Linked DNA regions of Homo sapiens: region 1 is linked to region 2. The links are contacts of gene promoters, found by promoter capture Hi-C in blood cells and fetal thymus (Javierre and others, 2016). All regions are on one chromosome and are shown on one strand. Each heading gives the region's core, a stretch centred on a gene start or on the middle of the fragment in contact. The rest is flanking DNA. Distances are from core to core; before and after follow the strand shown. Region 1 has its middle 61 kb from the start of AKAP1. Region 2 holds the start of SRSF1 (serine and arginine rich splicing factor 1).

What was found. The method cuts DNA at HindIII sites, captures the fragments that hold promoters and counts their contacts. A CHiCAGO score of 5 or more calls a contact.
Region 1: a contact is called between a fragment that was not itself captured here and the fragment with the promoter of SRSF1 in region 2, in 1 of 17 cell types (M2 macrophages). The highest score is 6.1, in M2 macrophages.

Annotation. Positions count from the first base shown.
Region 1 is chr17:57,143,053-57,148,890 of GRCh38, reverse strand. No RefSeq gene overlaps it. Among named protein-coding and RNA genes, the nearest start is that of AKAP1, 61 kb to the right of the region's middle. The HindIII fragment of the contact is 1,113 bases long and covers 2,303-3,415 here.
Region 2 is chr17:58,004,497-58,010,266 of GRCh38, reverse strand. It overlaps SRSF1 (serine and arginine rich splicing factor 1), which reads left to right and starts at 3,021. Exons shown (of 4, transcript NM_006924.5): 1 at 3,021-3,323; 2 at 3,740-3,924; 3 at 4,294-4,466; 4 at 4,667-5,770. The coding sequence starts at 3,130. The coding sequence ends at 4,861. RefSeq lists enhancers at 2,670-2,719, 2,668-3,386, 3,510-3,559, 3,830-3,879, 4,211-5,410. The HindIII fragment of the contact is 5,045 bases long and covers 1-4,630 here.

The sequences.
Region 1 (5,838 bases), core at 1,610-4,109, 860 kb after region 2:
AAAGAGTGTCCAAGAATGTTGACAGCATTTTCCTCCTAATAGCCCCAAACTGGATGCAACCCAAATGCCCATTTCAGCAAGAGAATGGGGAATATATTGCAGCATAATCACGTAATGGAATTCTACTCAACAATAAAAAGAATAAACCACTGCCATATGCAAAAACATAGGTGATTTCACAGACATTATGTTCAGAGAAAGATACCAAGCACAAAAGAATATACACTGTATTCTTCCATTTATAGGAAATCCAAGAACAGGTAAAACCAATCATTAGGTGATAGAACCCATAACGGCACTGACCTCTTCGGGGGTACTGACTTTGAAGGGGGGTGAGAGAAACTTCTAGGTGCTGTAAATATCCTGATGTCGGTAGTGGTTATGGAGGTATATACATATATAAAAAGCAAGTGGAACACCTAAGATCAGTGCACTTTCCCCATACTTCGTGCATTATACCTCAATGAAAACTAAAAAATAATTATATTCTATAGGGAAAAACTCTCTCCAGCCACATTTTTCCTCAGCTGTCACACCACAGCAATCAACACAGAATTTTTATGACCAAAGGTATGTGTGTTTCTTCCCCACACACCAAGCAGCGGACCCCAGGGGGGTGTCCTCCAATTCAGTTCAGACACTACGATAGCGTCAGCTCCCACAGGCTGAGGGCTTAGTCCCCGTGACTGCCCTCCAGCACACACCAGTGGCAAGTCCAGGCCTCTGAAACTTCTGACTGATTGGCTTCACAATTGCCCCCACCACCCTCTTTGTGTTCAATTAATTTGCTGGAGCAGCTCACAGAACTCAGGGGAACACTCGCATTTACCAGTTCATTATGAGGAATATCGCAGCCAGGCACAGTGGCTCACGCCTGTAATCCAAGCACGTTGGGAGGCCAAGGTGGGCAGATCACTCGAGGCCAGGAGTTCGAGACCAGCCTGGCCAACATGGTGAAACCTCGTCTCTGCAAAAAATACAAAAATTAGCCAGGCGTGATGGCGCATGCCTGTAATCGCAGCTACTCAAGAGGCTGAGGTGGGAGGATGGCTTTAGCCCGGGAGGTAGAGGTTGCAGTGAGCCAAGATCACACCACTGCACTCCGGCCTGGGCACAGAGCAAGACTCTGTCTCCAAAAAAGGATATTGCAAAGGATACAGATGAAGAGATGCATAGGGTATAGGAGAAAGGGCGTGGAGCTTCCATCCCCTCCCTGGGATACCAGGCTTCACACGTTCAGCTATCCGGGAGCTCCCCCAACCCAGTCCTCTTGGGTATTTATGGAAGTTTCAAAGCATTTTCCCCCCAGGGTACAGGGTGGGACCCTCTCTGAAGAAAGCCTTAAGACCCACAATCAGAAAGGCAGGGGAAGTTGAGGCTGGGTATAGTGGTTCATACCAGTGATCCCAACACTTTGTGAGGCTGAGGCGGGCGGATCACCTGAGATCAAGAGTTCAAGACTAGACTGGCCAACATGGTGAAACTGTGTCTCTACTAAAAATACAAAAATTAGCTAGCCATGGTGGTGGGCACCTGTAATTCCAGCTACTCAGGAGGCTGAGGCAGGAGAATTACTTGAACCCAGGAGGCAGAGGTTGGAGTGAGCTGAGATTGCGCCACTACACTCCAGCCTGGGTGACAAAGCGAGACTCCATCTCAATAAAAAAAGAAAATGAGAGTCCTATCTTGAGTTAGGTGAATGGAGGGCAAGAGAGAGATTCTGTTTCCTGAAGCCTGCCCCTGAGGCCTAATACACCCAACATTATAAGTAAAGGCTGTAACAGGGGCTATGGGAGATATGAAGCAGAAGCCGTGGACAACAGCCCATCTATATCATAACACCACGTATTCCATTACCGGGTTCTACTGTGTATGTGAGCTGGGAATGAATAAATCCAGTAACTGTCTTGGGAAAAGCACATTTATATTGCATCTTATTTGTTTTTATAATAATGGCCTTGATTTTAAACATGCACACATTTGAAGCACACCACAATTTTTGCAATCCGTTTTGACATTTCTCCATTGTTTAATAAACCAAAGCTTAAAGAAAGGACAATGTTCTGGCCCTCTCTGAACCTCCAGGAGGCCCCATCATGAACATAGCCACAGGATGGGCAGAGACAGGGAGGAGTCCAGAGGGGCTGTGTTCTCCACAAGACACAGCCTGGAGGTGGGGTGGGGCTTCGCCAAGTGCCAGCCCTCGGGGGCACCGATGAGGCAGAAGATGGGCTGGGGCACCCAGTCTTGGCTTGAGCCCTCTCTGCCTGCTGCTCAGAAGGAACCTGCAGCAACCCAAGCTTTCTAAAGCCCAGGCTGTGCCATTCTTTTTCATAGCTGTCAGGGCGGTATAAAGCACATTGCCTGGGCCAAGGTGCTTTTGTCCCCCTGGAAAAGAGGGCTGGAAGCTGGAAGACAGCCAGGGAACTGCCCAAAGGGGTAGTCAGGGCCAGCTTCCTGGGCATCTGTCCTGTGCAGTCACACAGGGCCTCATACTGAGAAGGGCTCCACAGTTGGTTAATACTCTGCCGTCACAGTCTTAACACTTTTTTTTTTTTTTTTTTTGAGACGGAGTTTCACTCTTGTTGCCCAGGCTGGAGTGCAATGGCGCGATCTTGGCTCACTGAAACCTCCAACTCTCGGGTTCAAGCGATTCTTCTGCCTCAGCCTCCTGAGTAGCTGGGATTACAGGCATGTGCCACCACACCTGGCTAAGTTTTGTATTTTTAGTAGAGACGGGGTTTCGCCATGTTGACCAGGCTGGTCTTGAACTCTTGACCTCAGGTGATCCACCTGCCTTGGCCTCTCAAAGTGCTAGGATTACAGGCGTGAGCCACCATGCCCGGCCTACATTATTTTTATTTTTAATTTTTTAGTTTTTTATATTTAAAAGATAGAGACGGAGGTCTCATTATGTTACCCAGGCTGGTCTTGAACTCCTGGGCTCAAGCGATCCTCCCACCTCAGCATCCCAAACTGCTTCAGCCACTGCACCCAGCAGTCTTAAAGTCTTAATCTTTGTTGAACAAGAGGCCCTGCAGTTTCATTCCCCTCCCACTCCCCACAAACGTAATGGTCAGTCCTGGAGTAGCAGACTGTGGCATTAATAGCCTATGTCTGGAGTCGGGGTTCTATTCCCAGCTCTGCCCCTTGCTGCCGGGGCATCTTGGTCAAGCCATTTAAGCTCCATGCCTCAGTGCCCTATCTGTAATATGGGGGTAACAGCTATACCCGTTCAGAAGATGTTAAGAGAATCAAATCAGCCTTCAGCTCCCAGCTTGGCACATTACAAAGTACTCAATGAAGCTCGGTGATTAGCGCTAAGATGATTGAGGGCGGATTACAGAGGCAGTACTCTTGCCTGGACCTGCCTCAGAAATGCCTTTTCTAAAGGCAGGAGCAAAAGAAAGAAGCTTTGGGATTAACTCTTCCAAAATAGCAAATGTTCTCTCTTCAGCATTAGGGCTAACACCAGTGGCATTATTACACCCCAGGAAAAATGTGTCCTCATCAAGTCACAAAAGCCTGGTTTCAACCCACAGAGGGAACAACAACAAAAACGTCTGAAATGCTGAAAAAGCCAAGAGCGTCGGGTACACGTTATCCAGCCCATCTTTGATTTGGGAGTTCACTGAAGCATGACTGATGCATGGTTATCTTGGGTCCTATATGTCTCTTCCGTAAATAGACTTTTGTTACAAGAAAAAAAATGGACTGACTTGGAAAAACAGAAAGAAACACAAGGAGCAGCGAGACTTTTTCCCTTCTCACAAAATGGACAGGTCTGAGAACTCCCAGGATCCTGGCTGTTCACAGATCAATTAACCTCCTGTAGCCTCAGTTTCTGCCCTTGTAAATGGGGAGTATGCAGGAGTGATGAGGAACACAGATTCTGGAGACAGACTCCCGGGGGCATCTTAACAATCTCACTTACCGGTTGTGTGGCCTGGGACACACACTAGGCTTCTGTGCTTCTGCTTCTACCTCCTGTAGAAGCTACAGTACCTACCTCCTGGGGTCGTTGGGAGGGTGAAGCAGGATAATATACATAAAGCGTAAGGAATGGTGCCTGGCCCAGAGTAAGTCCGCAATAAATGTTAGCTGCAGACCATGAACCTAAATCCCCCAGCTGCAGTTGTGCTGAATAATGGGAGAAGTAGTCGTAGCAGTTGTTGCTATTGTTATTTAAACTGCCGCAGGACCTCTGATCTTGTGACTTCAGGTTCCTTCTGCATATGCCTCCAAAATGTAGGAGACCCTTAAGGAGCATCAGCGATTGGTCAAGGCCTAGGGATAAGCTAAACTCAGATGAGATCTTCCCAACCTTCCCCACCCAGAGGACCATGATCATAGGCCTCAGAGTCATTTTAATGTCAGAGAAGAAAAGAACCAGCTGGGCGCAGTGGCTCACGCCTATAATCCCAACACTTTGGGAGTACGAGGCAGGCAGATTGCTTGAGCCCAGGAGTTCAAAACTAGCCTGAGTAACATGGCAAAGCCCTGTCTCTACTGAAAAAAAAAATGCAAAAATTAGACAGGCATGGTGGCACATGCCTGTAGTCCCAGTTACTCAGGAGGCTTAGGTGGGAGGATCACCTGAGCCCAGGAGGTCGAGGCTGCAGTGAGCCACTGCACTGCAGCCTGGGACACAGAGTGAGACTCAATCTCAAAAAAAAAAAAAAAAAAAAAAGAATCTTGTAGGTCAGCACGTCCACATTCCTCATTTATAGATGAGGAACTAAAGCTCAGAGAAGGCAAGTGACCTGCTCAAGGTCACACAGAACAGGAGCTGAGCTAGGAAGACAGCTCAGAGTTCATGACTTTGCACATCCGTTCCCTTCCTGTTCCCGCTTACAGCTTATTCTGTTGGAGTCCCTGGCCCCTCACAAGGTCCCCCGACCTCTCTATCTCCCAGGTGAGCATCTGTCAGGTTATGGACTCATCTAATTATTGGCCACATCCTACTAGAGACCCATTTTTCTTACTGAATCAGGCCACCATTAGGTCCTGAAAGCCCCATAAAGTCTTCTACGGATGAGCAGATCCTTTAATCTATTATTCCCGAGTCCTATTTATATATATTTATCCATATGGCTATATAAATAGGGCTTTGAGATGTATACGTGGCAGGTTATTGCTGTAGCATAGCTGTTCTCCCCAAGAGGAAAACAAAAATGATGTATGGCAGAAGCTCTTTTCCATGCAGAAAGCTCCTGTCTGATTTATTAAGAGTTAGGTTGCAGTCACATGCTCTGAAGTAGTGAATCTATTGCAAAGTTATCTAAGAGCAGGACACTCTCAGCTCCAGAAGCCAAAACAGCAAGTCTAGGGTGTGGCAAGAGCTCAAAGAATCTTACAGCAGTCACTCGCTAGGTACTTGCCATATCCCACGGTATTAACTAGGATTCCTTTGGTTGCAAGTTTAAGCAAAAAAGGGAAGCTTGTTATAAGGATATTGGGTGTCTCCAGGAACTCAAGGAGAGGCATGGGGCTGGGTCTCAAAATGGCTACAGATGCTTCTCTCTTATGCATCTCTGCCTTTCTCTGGTCCTTAGCTCCATTCTTCCCTCTTGCTCCAGATTATCATTCTCCATATGGAAGAAAACATGGCAGCCACCAGCTCCCAAGTTTTGCCTCTTACAGTTTCCACGAGCTGACTTTGTACTTTCTCTGGTCCCAAGTACAAGGAATGGAATCCAAGTTCCCCGTGTGGCTCAAGGGTCAGGAGCAGGGTCACGAACCCAGAGCAGCTGCTGCAGGAAGCATTCAATGAACTGGGTGTGGGCAGGAACAGTTCCCAGACAGTGTGGGAGAATTTTGTGTGTCATCAGACAAAGC
Region 2 (5,770 bases), core at 1,772-4,271:
TCCAGGAGGTCGAGGCTGCAGTGAGCTGTGATTGCACCACTGCATTCCAGCCTGAGTGAAAGAGCAAGACCCTGTCTCAAAAAAAAAAAAAAAAAAAAAAAAAAAAGCCGGCCAGGTGCAGGGGCTCATGCCTGTAATCCCACTACTTTGGGAGGCCAAGGCCGGAGGATCACTTGAGGCCAGGAGTTCGAGACCAGCATGGCCAACATGACGAAACCCCGTCTCTACTAAAAATACAAAAATTAGCTGGACGTGGTGGCTCATGCCTGTAATCCCAGCTACCAAAAATACAAAAATTAGCTGGGCATCGTGGCACATGTCTGTAATTCCAGCTACTCGGAAGGCTGAGGCACAAGAATGACTTAGGCCAGGGAAGCAGAGGTTGCACTGAGCTGAGATCATGCCATTGCACTCCAGCCTGGGTGACAGAGGGCAACTCTGTCTCAAAAAAAAAAAAAAAATATATATATATATATATATATATATACACACACACACACAAACACACATCTATATATATACTTAAAGGATGGTCTGAAGAATAGGCAATCTATCCTTCCCTTGACAAATTTCAGAAGTTCTTTTTCCTTTTGGGATCTATGGACTCCTTTAAGAAGTTGATTAAAATTCCAAATCCTCTTCCCAGAAAAAAGTACACACATGCATATAATTTTGTACATGCACACATGCATATAATTTTCGAAAATATTACAGAAAGCTCAAGGATTACCAAAGGTCATCTGTAGATATACCGAGGATCTACGGCCACAAGACCAAGCATCCCTGCTCATTTCAAATTGAATTTGTATTTTGGGGTCACCGAGAAACATTTGTAAAATATATTTCATCAGCTTTTAGAATTAAGAAAACATGTCCTTCTCCTGAATGACCTATTTACTTTTATCCCAAAGGCACTTTGGATTTTGAATACACAATACTTCTGTACCCTTCTTTACCGTGACTTCTGGGAAGACTAAAGTAAAATTTGCAATCTATCTCAACAAATTCAACGGGCTTTCACTGCAGGCATTTTGTATAGTAATTTATGCGTATTTCATTTAATCCACCCCTCATTTTCCCATTCCTCTGATTTCTTACTCTAGCATTTTTTTTGTGTGTGTGTGAGATGGAGTCTTGTTCTGTCACCCAGGCTGGAGTGCAGTGGCGTGATTTCCGCTCACTGCAGCCTCCACCTCCTAAGGGTTCAAGAGATTGTCCTGTCTCACCCTACCGAGTAGCTGGGATTACAGGCACGCGCCACCATACCCAGCTAATGTTTTGTATTTTTAGAAGATACGGGTTTCGACATGTTGGTCTCCGACTCCTGACCTCAGGTGATCCGCCCGCCTCGGCCTCCCAAAGTGCTGGGATTACAGGAGTGAGCCACCACGCCCAGCCTCATCTAGTTTTCATGTTTTATGGTATCTCTGTAAGTTGCCTCACATCCTTGCGGAAAGGGACTACTGTAAATAAATAACATGAAGAAAATTATCCCTTAAATTCAGTGTGTAGATCTGTTATGGCAAATTTATGACTGCAGGGTTTGATTTTAATTTGTTGTTGTTTCCCCCTCCTTTTTTTTTTTTTTGGAGGAGTCTCACTCTGTAGCCCAGGCTGCAGTGCAATGGCGCCATCTCAGCTCACTGCAACCTCCGCCTCCAGGGTTCTAGCGATTCTCCTGCCTCAGCCTCCCGCGTAGAGTGGATTACAGGCGCCTGCCACCAAGCCCGGCTAATTTTTTGTTTTTTCAGTAGAGACGGGATTTCACCATGTTGGCCAGGCTGGTCTCGAATTCCTGACCTCAAGTGATCCAACCGCCTCGGCCTCCCAAAGTGCTGGCGTGAGCCACCGCGCCCAGCCTGATTTGAATTTTAATTCATTAGCGACGTTTAAAAATCCCAGGATTTCACATAAAAATCCAGATTTCAGACGTCGAAAAAAAATGTAAAATGTTATCTCCCAATGCCGCAGGCAAACAGGATCACAGTCCTGAATAGCAACCGCGGTATCTAGTGGTTACGGTTCTCACATCCATTTTGCTCCATTTTATTACCTGAGAGGACCGGTATTTTCAAAACCTGGTGTATCAGTAACTTTTAGGGAAAACTTTTGAAAAAAGGACTGCACACACGCACCCTTTCTTCCTTCTCGTTCTTTGAAAGGAAACAACAGAAACGATTCATTCTGCAGGCATTCTGCGCTAGTCCCACGGACAGGCGACTAACAAGAGATAAAAAGGTGTGGGTCCCATAGGCGGTACGGTGTTACCCCTTCTGGTTGGCGGGTACCACGTTGCCGGTCGGGATACGGACCCACTGCGACTAGCACTAGGAGTGCTGACCCGAGCTATGCAAAGTTCTGACGAGAAGGCGGAACGGTACTTAATGAAGAGGATTAAGGAATCTAAATCGGTTTCGCTAAATTAGACACATCTGTCTAAGCAGCCACGGTCTATTCGCAGCAGGGGCGGGAAGACAAACCAACGCCCCAGCTCTCCGTTCAATCACCCGCAACTCAGCTCTGGATTAGACGCACCCTACGAAGATACCCGGGTTTCCGGAGCAACCGCCCGGGCCGTCCCCCTTTGGCCCCGCCTCCGAGACTCTTTCCCGCCAAAGGCCGTTATCGCCGCAGAGCATGGTGGGACAACGCTTTAGGCTAGGTTTCACCAAGTGCTTTGAAGGCGCCGAGTTGCTTTCAAAGATCCTCATTCCTGGAGAAATCGACCATCCTTCAAGACCCGACCTGGATGACTAGCTCCTTTAACGAAAGTTCGTTATTTAACTTTTACCAAACGGCTGGTCACTCTGTTCGCAAACCACCCCAAGCTGGGAACGCGGGGGACTTTTTTACCCCCTTCGTGGGGAGGGTGACGTCGCGCGTGCGTGCGCGTGCGCTGAACGTAGCCCTCGCAGCACCCGTTGCGCTCCCGCGCGTGCGTGTTGGGATCGAATCGCTGTTTCCTTCCGCTTCTCTTCCTCTGTCTCCCCCCCATATCCGTGCGCCGAGCTGATAAAGGCGCCATTTTGGAGGGGCCGCGGGAGACGTGGTGCCGCTGCGGGCTCGCTCTGCCGTGCGCTAGGCTTGGTGGGAAGGCCTGTTCTCGAGTCCGCGCTTTTCGTCACCGCCATGTCGGGAGGTGGTGTGATTCGTGGCCCCGCAGGGAACAACGATTGCCGCATCTACGTGGGTAACTTACCTCCAGACATCCGAACCAAGGACATTGAGGACGTGTTCTACAAATACGGCGCTATCCGCGACATCGACCTCAAGAATCGCCGCGGGGGACCGCCCTTCGCCTTCGTTGAGTTCGAGGACCCGCGGTGAGGCGGCATGGGGCTTGCAGCCTTGAGGAAATAGGTCCGAGTAGTTGGGGAAGGCTCCAAGGCCTTAACATAGAGAACGGGGAAGCGGGGGCTCTTAGAGAGGTTGGGGCGAGACTGTATCGCCCATGCAGGAGTCGAGTAAGGAGCTGAGTTGATGTGGCTTCTCTGGCGCCTCGCCTTGGACGTCCCCGGAGCCCATTCGCAGGCTGGAGCGGGAAACTGAGGCGCTGAGGGCTGGTGTAGTGGTTGGGAGCCTGGCGTGTTTCTGGGTGGGGGAGGGGCCATTCCTATTATGCGGCGCATGTGGGCTCTTCCACGTTGGGTGCGCATGTGCGGGGGGTTTGCTGGTTCCCAACTGAGCGAGCTTCTCCTCCTGGTGTTTCTCATCCCTTTTACTTTCTGCGATCCCGCAGAGACGCGGAAGACGCGGTGTATGGTCGCGACGGCTATGATTACGATGGGTACCGTCTGCGGGTGGAGTTTCCTCGAAGCGGCCGTGGAACAGGCCGAGGCGGCGGCGGGGGTGGAGGTGGCGGAGCTCCCCGAGGTCGCTATGGCCCCCCATCCAGGCGGTCTGAAAACAGAGTGGTTGTCTCTGGTGAGTGTACTGGTTGTGTGGATTGATGTGAAGGGACGAAAACTACCTAAAATTTTTCTCTTGCGTGACAGGTTTAATAATTGCAAATTTTTCATGCTAGGTCTTAAATTGCTTTAGTTTTTGGGTGAATTTAATAAACGAGGATTGCTGCTGTGGTGATTTACCAAATTAGGTTGCGGTACTAGATACGAAGATCGTTACAAATAATTTTGGACTCTGGATTCCAGAATCTTACCAGCTCTCTTTACCTGGTATCACTTAAGTACACCTATTAAGTACTTTAAAGTACTCTTTGTCCTAATGTACCTTACCAGCTTAACGTGAAATTTAAGATAATTGGTACTAAGAAAAAAAAAATCACTTTTTCAGGACTGCCTCCAAGTGGAAGTTGGCAGGATTTAAAGGATCACATGCGTGAAGCAGGTGATGTATGTTATGCTGATGTTTACCGAGATGGCACTGGTGTCGTGGAGTTTGTACGGAAAGAAGATATGACCTATGCAGTTCGAAAACTGGATAACACTAAGTTTAGATCTCATGAGGTAGGTTATACACGTATTCTTTTCTTTGACCAGAATTGGATACAGTGGTCTTAACAGTGGAATTTCAAGGTAAGGATTCAGGCAAGGTTGTCCAAGTAAATTGCCAGATTTCTGGTTTTAGTTACATTGTATTCATTCAGCATGTCTGAAGATAGATGAAAGCTTAGATCTTTCAATGGAAAGTTCTGTCTATCCAATAGGGAGAAACTGCCTACATCCGGGTTAAAGTTGATGGGCCCAGAAGTCCAAGTTATGGAAGATCTCGATCTCGAAGCCGTAGTCGTAGCAGAAGCCGTAGCAGAAGCAACAGCAGGAGTCGCAGTTACTCCCCAAGGAGAAGCAGAGGATCACCACGCTATTCTCCCCGTCATAGCAGATCTCGCTCTCGTACATAAGATGATTGGTGACACTTTTTGTAGAACCCATGTTGTATACAGTTTTCCTTTATTCAGTACAATCTTTTCATTTTTTAATTCAAACTGTTTTGTTCAGAATGGGCTAAAGTGTTGAATTGCATTCTTGTAATATCCCCTTGCTCCTAACATCTACATTCCCTTCGTGTCTTTGATAAATTGTATTTTAAGTGATGTCATAGACAGGATTGTTTAAATTTAGTTAACTCCATACTCTTCAGACTGTGATATTGTGTAAATGTCTATCTGCCCTGGTTTGTGTGAACTGGGATGTTGGGGGTGTTTGTGGTTATCTTACCTGGGGAAGTTCTTATGTTTATCTTGCTTTTCATGTGTCTTTCTGTAGACATATCTGAAGAGATGGATTAAGAATGCTTTGGATTAAGGATTGTGGAGCACATTTCAATCATTTTAGGATTGTCAAAAGGAGGATTGAGGAGGATCAGATCAATAATGGAGGCAATGGTATGACTCCAAGTGCTATTGTCACAGATGAAATTGGCAGTATTGACCTTATACTAAAAGGCAGGGGTTAAAAATGATTATATACATTTTCCTTAAAACACTTGCAAACATTTTATTCAGTTGTCTTTAGCTACAATTGCTTTGCTTTTTAAACCTTGGCAATTGTGGCAAAATTATATTGCCCATTTTGTAGCAACTTATTTTGCTCCCTTCCCCCCATTTTTGTTTTAATAGGGACTAATGTGGGAAGAACTGGCTAATTTGTCACAGTGCTTAGTTACAACTGTTAATGTGTGACCTGCTGTTGGTGTACATGTGGGTACAGGGTGTTTTTAAATCCAACAAGATAGAGTATAATATCAATACTGCTAAATCTGCATGTCCTCTGTGTGACTGATAGAGCGTTGCTATTTCATTTTTTTAAGA